Linked DNA regions of Homo sapiens: all the other regions are linked to region 3. The links are contacts of gene promoters, found by promoter capture Hi-C in human tissues and cell types (Jung and others, 2019). All regions are on one chromosome and are shown on one strand. The core of a region is centred on a gene start or on the middle of the fragment in contact, and the rest is flanking DNA. Distances in the headings are between cores, read along the strand shown. Region 1 overlaps LOC107985541 (a long non-coding RNA gene). Region 2 overlaps THOC5 (THO complex subunit 5). Region 3 holds the start of RASL10A (RAS like family 10 member A).

The links. Contacts are between HindIII fragments. The study calls those that stand out against the background at their distance.
Region 1: a contact is called between a fragment that was not itself captured here and the fragment with the promoter of RASL10A in region 3, in 4 of the 25 tissues and cell types used here (dorsolateral prefrontal cortex, lymphoblastoid cells, spleen and 1 more).
Region 2: a fragment that was not itself captured here is called in contact with the fragment with the promoter of RASL10A in region 3 in 2 of the 25 tissues and cell types used here (H1 embryonic stem cells and stomach).

What each region holds. Positions count from the first base shown.
Region 1 is chr22:29,468,840-29,471,539 of GRCh38, forward strand. It overlaps LOC107985541 (a long non-coding RNA gene), which reads right to left. Exons shown (of 4, transcript XR_001755482.2): 2 at 1-2,700. Among named protein-coding and RNA genes, the nearest start is that of NEFH, 10 kb to the right of the region's middle. RefSeq lists an enhancer at 1,305-1,805. The HindIII fragment of the contact is 5,351 bases long and covers 1-2,700 here.
Region 2 is chr22:29,541,599-29,544,298 of GRCh38, forward strand. THOC5 (THO complex subunit 5) reads right to left here. Exons shown (of 20, transcript NM_003678.5): 4 at 1,831-1,944; 5 at 1,261-1,358. Among named protein-coding and RNA genes, the nearest start is that of THOC5, 11 kb to the right of the region's middle. The HindIII fragment of the contact is 4,062 bases long and covers 1-2,700 here.
Region 3 is chr22:29,314,291-29,316,990 of GRCh38, forward strand. It overlaps RASL10A (RAS like family 10 member A), which reads right to left and starts at 1,407. Exons shown (of 3, transcript NM_006477.5): 1 at 738-1,407. The coding sequence starts at 956. RefSeq lists enhancers at 1-598, 599-1,403. The HindIII fragment of the contact is 15,140 bases long and covers 1-2,700 here.

The DNA of each region.
Region 1 (2,700 bases), core at 41-2,540, 150 kb after region 3:
GTGAGTATCCCACCTCAGCTCTCCAAGTAGCTGGGACTTCAAGCATGAGCCACTGCACCTGGCTAATTTGAACTTTTTAATTTTTTTTTATTGTAGAGACAGGGTCTTGTTTTGTTGCCCAGGCTGGACTCAAACTCCTGGCTTCAAGCAATCCTCCTTCCTCCTCAGCCTCCCAAAGTTCTGGGATTACAGACATGAGCCAACATGCCTGGTCTAGTCTTACCTTTTACTAATGCGGAAACTGAAGCCCAGAGATGCAGAGATGTGCCTAAATTACAGTTAATTAGGAACAAATGTAATCCTCAAATCCAGATCTCCAACATTCATGTCAAAACTCCCTAAAATCAAACAACATCGGCTGGGGAAAGAACATTCAAAGTCTCCCAGTCCAAGCCTCTCATTTCACAGTAGGAGAAAGCTTGACTCAGAGAAGAGTGGAATATGCCTAAGAGTGACATGCAGGCAGGCAGAATGCACCATCAATGAATCGAAAAGTTAGTTTTTTACTATATGTGCCCTAAGGCATATAAAGTGACTTCTCCGAGCTTCACCTTTGAAATGGAAATAAAATTTACAGTATAGGGTTCACTGTCAGGAGGATAAATGATTCATGAAATGCCCTTGGGCCAGCACCCAGCACTTAGTGGGTGCTCAATGCATGGTATCTATTATTAATACTGCTAGAACCTTGTCATTTCCCCCTCTGCCATTCTGCCTTCCAGGTCAAACCTTTCTCAGTACAGTATAGTAGGTAAGACTGGGGACTACTGCTTCAGCTACTTGTCAGCAGGGTGACTTTGGACTGGTTACTACCCAGCAACTCTGGGCCTCAAATGTCTCATCAGTAAACTGGGGACAGAATAGCAGTACCCACCAGACAAGGCTGTGGGAGGGGGAAATAATGCATGTGACTGGCCTTCACACAAAGCCAAGCACATAGTCAGTGCTCAATAAATGCGGGCTACTACTGTTACCAATTACTTCCACAGCCATGTCTCATGTCTGTCACCATCCCAGACTGCAGGGAGTCTGGTCCACCAGCAAGTGGCCGGTCCCCAACCTCCAGGGCTCTCCAGTCTCAAGAGTGCTGACGCAGCAAGGGAAGGAGCTCCCAGTACATCCACACCGGCTCTCCTGACTCAGCTCTGATTTCTCAGGTGCCTGTGTAGGGTCGACAATTCTGAGCATGCTGGACGAAATCCCGATTTTTGCATTCATGTAAGAGTCTTGGAAGAGCCCCCTTTTCACACGTGCAGAAACTGAGGTCTGGGGAGGAGGAAGAGGCTGCTGCCCACGGACACACAGGTGCCAGGACCAATGTCTGGGGAGGAGGAGAAGGGCGCTGTTCACGGAAACACAGGCGCCAGGGCTTGATGCACCGGTGTCCTCGCTTGTGGCTGGGTCCTTCTGGGACGATCCCCTTTCCCAGGATCCCGCCCCTAGGAAGAGCACCGGCCATGCCCCTACCTGAGCCCCACCCCCTGAGTTCTTTGAGCACCGCTGCCCCCAGGCCGTTACGATGAGGGAAGCCACGACAGCCAAGGCTACGGCTACCTTCCTGCAGCCCCTGGGGATGCCACTGATGCGACGCCGCGGCGGCCAAGGCGGGGCTGAAGGCGGCGCGCCCGGCTTCCCTGAGCCAGTTTGGAGGAGCGCTCTTCAATCTTCCGAGGCCGGATGAAGCATTCGGGCGTTCCCACTGCGGAAGGGCGGGGATGGCTGTGACGCAGGCGTGCCCGCCGTCGCCTGCAGGGGGCGCTGTTGCTGGCGCGATTCTATCAAGCGCAGAGCCAGCCGAGGCAGTATGCCGAGGCAGAGAAACCGGTTCTGCAGTCCCAGGGCCTCGGTTTCCCCCTCTGGAGAGTGTTCGTTTGTGACAGGGTCTCGCTCTGTTGCCGAGGCTGGAGTGCCGTGGCGTGATCTCGGCTCACTGCAACCTCCGCCTCTCCAGGTTTAAGCGATCCTCCCACCTCAGCCTCCCGAGGAGCTGGGACCACAGGCGCGCCACCACACCCAGCTATTTTTATTTTATTTTATTTTTTGTAGAAATGAGGTTTTTCTGTGTTGCCTGGGCTGGTCTCGAGCTCTTGGGCTCAAGCGATCCTCTCGCTTGGCCGCCCAAAGTGCTGGGATTAGAGGTGTGAGCCACTGCACCGCCGAAAGTGGGTTTGATGACAATGTTGTGAGGCTACAGTGGAACCCAGATAAATTTATGAAAGGAACCAGAAGACACTGATAAATAACCAAATTACTTAACCTCCCTACACCTGTTTGTTGATCTGTAAATGGGGATAATTGCACCTCCCTTCCCTGTGGATATGCAAACGTGGAAAAACACATAAAGGGGCTGGCACCTTATAAGCACCTAGTAAAAGGCAATGACTGTGATCACAGGCAAAGCACCCTGCCAAGCCAGAAAACAACATCCAAGTCCTGGTTCCTGTCCTCACGGAGCTCCAGTCGCAGAACCAGAGGCGAGGCAGTGAGAACCAGGCCTGCCCTCGGTTTCCTCATCTGTACCACTGATGGTCTCTAAGGCTCTCTGAGCCCAGCTTTCTTCAATGCTGGCTTGTGAAATGCAGCCCAAGATGGATTACAGTGACATGAATAACATGGAGTAGCATCTATGGGAAGTCACCGCTGAATCGCATTTATTCATTCAACAAGCTTTACTAATACTCTGGTACCAGGCCCTAGGAA
Region 2 (2,700 bases), core at 131-2,630, 230 kb after region 3:
CGCCTGTAATCCCAGCACTTTGGGAGGCTGAGGCAGGCGGATCATAAGATCAGGAGATCGAGACCATCCTGGCTAACACGGTGAAACCCTGTCTCTACTAAAAACACGAAATATTAGCCGGGCGTGGTGGCAAGCGCCTGTAGTCCCAGCTACTCGGGAGGCTGAGGCAGGAGAATGGCGTGAACCCGGGAGGCGGAGCTTGCAGTGAGCCGAGATCACGCCACTGCACTCCAGCCTGGGCGACAGAGCAAGACTCCATCTCCAAAAAAAAAAAAAAAAAAAAAAAAAAAAAAAAATATATATATATATATATATATATATATATCCTGGACCCAATGTCTAATAGGGCCCCTGCATATGTCAAGTTTGTTACAGATAAAAGCTGCTTTCAGTTTGCATAAACAGGTCTGATCAAGTGAGAACACTTCCCCTTCTCTTCCCGTTTACTCCTTCCTCCTTCTCATCTCTCAGCTTGGTTTTGAGGAAGGACACTGACAAACTGTAGTTTCTTCACCTGAAGGCAGCTAAGCAGCAAGAAATTCAGGTTCCAAAGAATAAAATCCATTTGCAGAAATGAACTGCTGGGACTACAGAAAGGAAAACTGGGCCAAAAGGTTAAAAGAATGTGACTGGAAGTGAGTTGCTCCCATACAACATGCCCAGAAATCAAACTGGTAATGTAAAGACCCCTGATAGGGAGAGAGACCTGCTTTTTACCAAGTGCAGAGCTCAAAACTCAAAAAGGTCAGAGAGACTTCTGAGGTTCTTTATGCAGCCTGAAATCACGGCTTGCAATTCTCCCACATTCACCCTTGCAATTTGCCCTTCTCCCAGATCCTACAGTTTTCTAAGCTCATCAGATTTCTTTTTAAAGAGAGACTTAGGCTGGGAGCGGTGGCTCACGCCTGTAATCCCAGCACTTTGGGAGGCCGAGGCGGGAGGACCACCTGAGGTCAGGAGTTCGAGAACAGCCTGGCCAACATGGCAAAACCCCGTCTCTACTAAAAATACAAAAATTAGCTGGATGTGGAGGTGGGCGCCTGCAATCCCAGCTACTCAGAAGGCTGAGGCAGGAGAATTGCTTGAACCCGGGAGGTGGAGGTTGCAGTGAGCTGAGATTGCGCCACTGCACTCCAGCCTGGGTGACAGGGCAAGACTCCGTCTCAAAAAAAAAAAAGAAACAGACTTACAGTGAGCTACATGGGAAAAAGCAGTTACCGAAAGACCACATGTGCCAAAGCCCTGTCCTCCCAAACTCACTTAAACTCCAAACATTTGGTGATCTCCTTCTGTAGGTGCATCACCTCATACAACAGGTTCTGGAGCTGCAGATGATAGGCATCTACTTTCTGCTTAGCCTGAAAGGAAAATACGATCAGAAGTGAGCAGGGCAAGTCAGGATGGAGCAGAGGAGAGGGTCAGCAAACTAAGAGAAGGTGTAAAGGGAATAAAGAAGGGGATGGGGCTGGGTGCAGTGGCTCACGCCTGTAATCCCAGCACTTTGGGAGGCCGAGGCGAGTGGATCACCTGAGCTCAGGAGTTCAAGACAAGCCTGGCCAACAAGGTGAAACCCCATCTCTACTAAAAAATACAAAAATTAGCCAGGCATGGTGGTGGGAGGTGCCTGTAATCCCAGCTACTTAGGAGGCTGAGGCAGGAGAATCGCTTGAAGCTGGGAGGCAGAGGATGTGGTGAGCTGAGATCGTGCCACTGCACTCTAGCCTGGGGGACAGAACGAGACTCTGTCTCAAAAAAAAAAAAAAAAAAAAAAAAAGAAGGGGATGGGGAGGAGGAAGGAGGAAGGTTAAAATTAAACCTTTTAACTACTACCTCGTGGGTCTGATCTCTTCCTTTCTTCAACCTGATGTGGGCTAATCGGTTAAGCTTCTTTAGAGTCATGAAATGCACACAGCTCTGGATCCTCCGTTCTTCTATTTCTATTGCCTGTGGGCAAAGAAAACAGTAAAGCCCACTGACGACAGGGCTAGCTCAGCTTCCTTCAGTCCTTCACCACTGACCCATCCTCATCTGGGGCCAAAAACGGCACCGGAGGGAGCTCAGAACCATGAGAAGGGTCATGAAGAAAATAAGAGGATGATTGTATAAGGAAAATGATTAAGAATCTCGGGCAAAAAAAAGTAATTTCTGCTTGGACTAGAGTAACAGGAATTGAAGATGGAATAAGGGCAGCAAAGGCACAATCTATCTCTACAGATCCTACACAGAGATCCCAGCAATAGTAACATCTTGTCATAAAATTTGACCTCTATAAATAACATTACAGGATAACTTAAATGGAAAATAACAGAATTATAGCCATAAAGCTTGGCTAGAATAGATTGAATGCAATAATTCTAACAAAACTTGTCAGCATAAGCACAAATACGTGAGATTCCTGGGGGAAAAAATGGATTTTAAAAAACTTATCTATCGAGTTTTTAGTCACATTGTTTAATTTCTCTGCCCCTAAAACCTCATTTATTCATTTACTATTAATGATAATTTCATTTTTGGTATCTACAATTTACTTGTACACATCCATCTTTGTATCAAGCAAATGTATAAGTACCATCATTTCTCAACACCTAGCAAAATGCCTGGCACTTAATAAATATTAATTGGATGAATGATCAAATTAGTAGGGAAAAAATTAATTATCCTGTACTTTCATTCCTGTAATTGGTGACTGAATGGTGATAA
Region 3 (2,700 bases), core at 157-2,656:
GCTTACCACGGCCTCTAAGACTAATTCCAAAGCCCTTGGCCCGAGTCCCGTGGTCCACCACGCCCCCAGATTGTCAGCTGTAACCGTTTATGACCGTAGCGTAAGCACCTGCTGGTCTTTCCACCTGGTATGTTTTTGCCACTTCCTTTACTCAGAACTTCACTCGGTCTTCCAGGTTCAGCTCAAATGCCACTCCCTCCAGGAAGCCCTGCTTAATCCTGCCTGCTCTTTCCTCTTCACTGCTCTAGGGTCGGAGGTCTGTCCTTTACTTTGCACAAATTACTAAACGAGTCTTCGCTCCAGGGGACAAAAATGATAGGGCAGAGAATGAACCCCTCCACCAGCCCCCGTAGAAAGTACACCCCTGCTCCTGACCCCAGTCTCTCCCATTGTAGCTCTGCTCAAGGCCCCAAACACAAAACGCCACACTCTCGGGAAGGCACCGTTATGCACCACCAAGAGCTGCTCCACACCCCCAGCCGAGGCAGGCAAAGGTGGAGGCGCTCACAGGAGCAAGGGAACGCCCCTGGGCAAAATCGCCCGGCCTCCAGCCTGGGCTTGGGCGTCTCCAGGTCGGCGGGAAGGGCTGAAACGCAAGTATCCCAGGACGCACACACATCCCTCCATCCCGGAGCACAGCCAGGCGCCCGAGGCCTCCACGCGGACACGCACGTGTGCACCGAGCACGCACACCCCTCACACTGTCACACGCCCCTGCCCGCTCCTCGAGCCGCTACCTCCGGACCCCCGGGGCTCGAGCCGGGGCCAGCGACGTCGCCGTCGCGGATGCTCAAGTCGTAGACGGCGCCGTCGAGCAGCACCGCGGGTCGGTAGAGGCGCGGCCCGTCCGTGGGCCGGTGGCGCTCGGGGTAGTCACCGAACAGGAACTGGCGGATGATGGCCGTCTTGCCCACGCCCGGGGCGCCTAGAACGGCCACCCGCAGGCTACCCCCCATGGCCGGCCGGCGCTGTCGCTCCCCGCGCTGGAAAGCCTCATGGGCCGGCGCCGCACCGTGCGCCCCCAGGCCGTGCGCCCCGCGCGCCCTGCCCGGTGCGCCACGGCCCCGTCGCGCTTCTCGTCGCCCCTCGGAGCACCGAGACCGGAGAGGGCAGGCCCGAGGCAGGAGCTGGCGGCGGGAGGGCAGACAGACAGCCGAGTGGGCAGACAGGTGGCGGGCGCGCGAGCGGCTCGGGCGGGTGCCGAAGCTCGAGAGAGAGCAGAGCCGGAGCGGCGCTCAGACACCGCCTCCGCCCCGCAGCGCCAACCCAGGCGCCGGCGGACGCGCGAGGCGCCGAAGTCCGCCCCTCTCGCGGCGCGGGTCCCGCAGCGGTGCGGGGCGCGGGGGGCAGCGCTGCCTCCCGGAGCCTCTGTGCCTCTATCCTTCTCTCGCTTCCGCGCCTGGAGTCGCCGCCCCAGCCGCCGGCGCGAGCGAGCGGGGCCTCCCGGAGGCGGCGATGAGGTAACCGCCCGCCCCTCCCACCTTCCCCCACCGCCCAGGACGCCCCTCCCAGGAAGGGTCGCAGGAAGGTGACTGGGGGACAGAGATCCCGGAGAGGGCCTACCCCTTCCTTACCTCCTCCGCGTGTCCCGCTCCTCTCACCCGCTCCAAAATAGAAGCCCCTTCCCACCCACTGCCGCGGCCGCTCTTCCAAACACTGCTCGCCCCCACGCTGGCTCCCGACAAGCCCCGGCCCCCGGAGTCAGGCCGCCCGGGGTCCGAATTGGGGGGGGCGGCTGTGTGACCTTGGGCGAATCGCCGCACTGCGCTGGGTCTGCGCTCCGCATCCATCACAGGCAGACTCCTCAAGAGGCTCCAACCTTTTCTTGAGAGCCTACTATGTGCCAGGCCCATTACCTACGTGATTCTCGAACCTACAGCCTCAGCCTGGCATCGCTGGTTGAGAGAAGAGGAAACAGGCCCGAGAGGGGAATCTGCAAGGTTAGAAGGGCAGTGGGGGGGCCCTTGAAGTCTCCTTTGAAGTCCCTCCTACCTTCCTCCTGCCCACGGGGGTAAATGGCCCACACTAGACAATATTCAAACAGCCGTCCTCGAGGGGAAGTGGGGACAGAGGGTGCCGAGACCACAGCAGCTTAGCCCCAGATCCCTGTCCCAGCAAGGCTGGAGGTGACTAAATAAAGATCCAGAAATTGGCCCACTCCACCTCCATCACTACTAAGGTCACCTTTCCTGCGTGAGTTGCAACCCGTAGCGCCCCTCAAAGGGATGCAACCTCCAAAACAGGCGCCCAGAGCCCAAGTTCCCCCTCCCTCGAGCTAGTGGAGAAGCTCCTGCCCCATCACAGCTTGGAAAGCCTGGGTTAGCCCAGCCCCCCCATCCTCCGCCTCTGCTCTCCTCCCCGCTGTGTGGGGGCTCCCACGTCTCTGACCTGCACATGGCAATGCTCAAGAAATGGCGGCAATGCTCAAGAAATGGCCGCAATGCACAGATCTCTGCACTGACTAAGGAGTTCATTTATTTATCCCCTCAACAAATATTCCAAATCTTATTGCTTGTCAGGAGGCTGAGATAGATTTAAAAAACAGAAAACAGGAAAAAAAAAAAAAGTTCTGCTTTGGGAGAGAAGGTTCTAGAACACATGGGATCTAGGGACTGTCAAAGCACAGACAATGTGCCCACACCAGCCCAGGGGAAGTAGAGGAGCTAAATCCTGAAGGGGGAGGAGGCACATCCTCCAGGG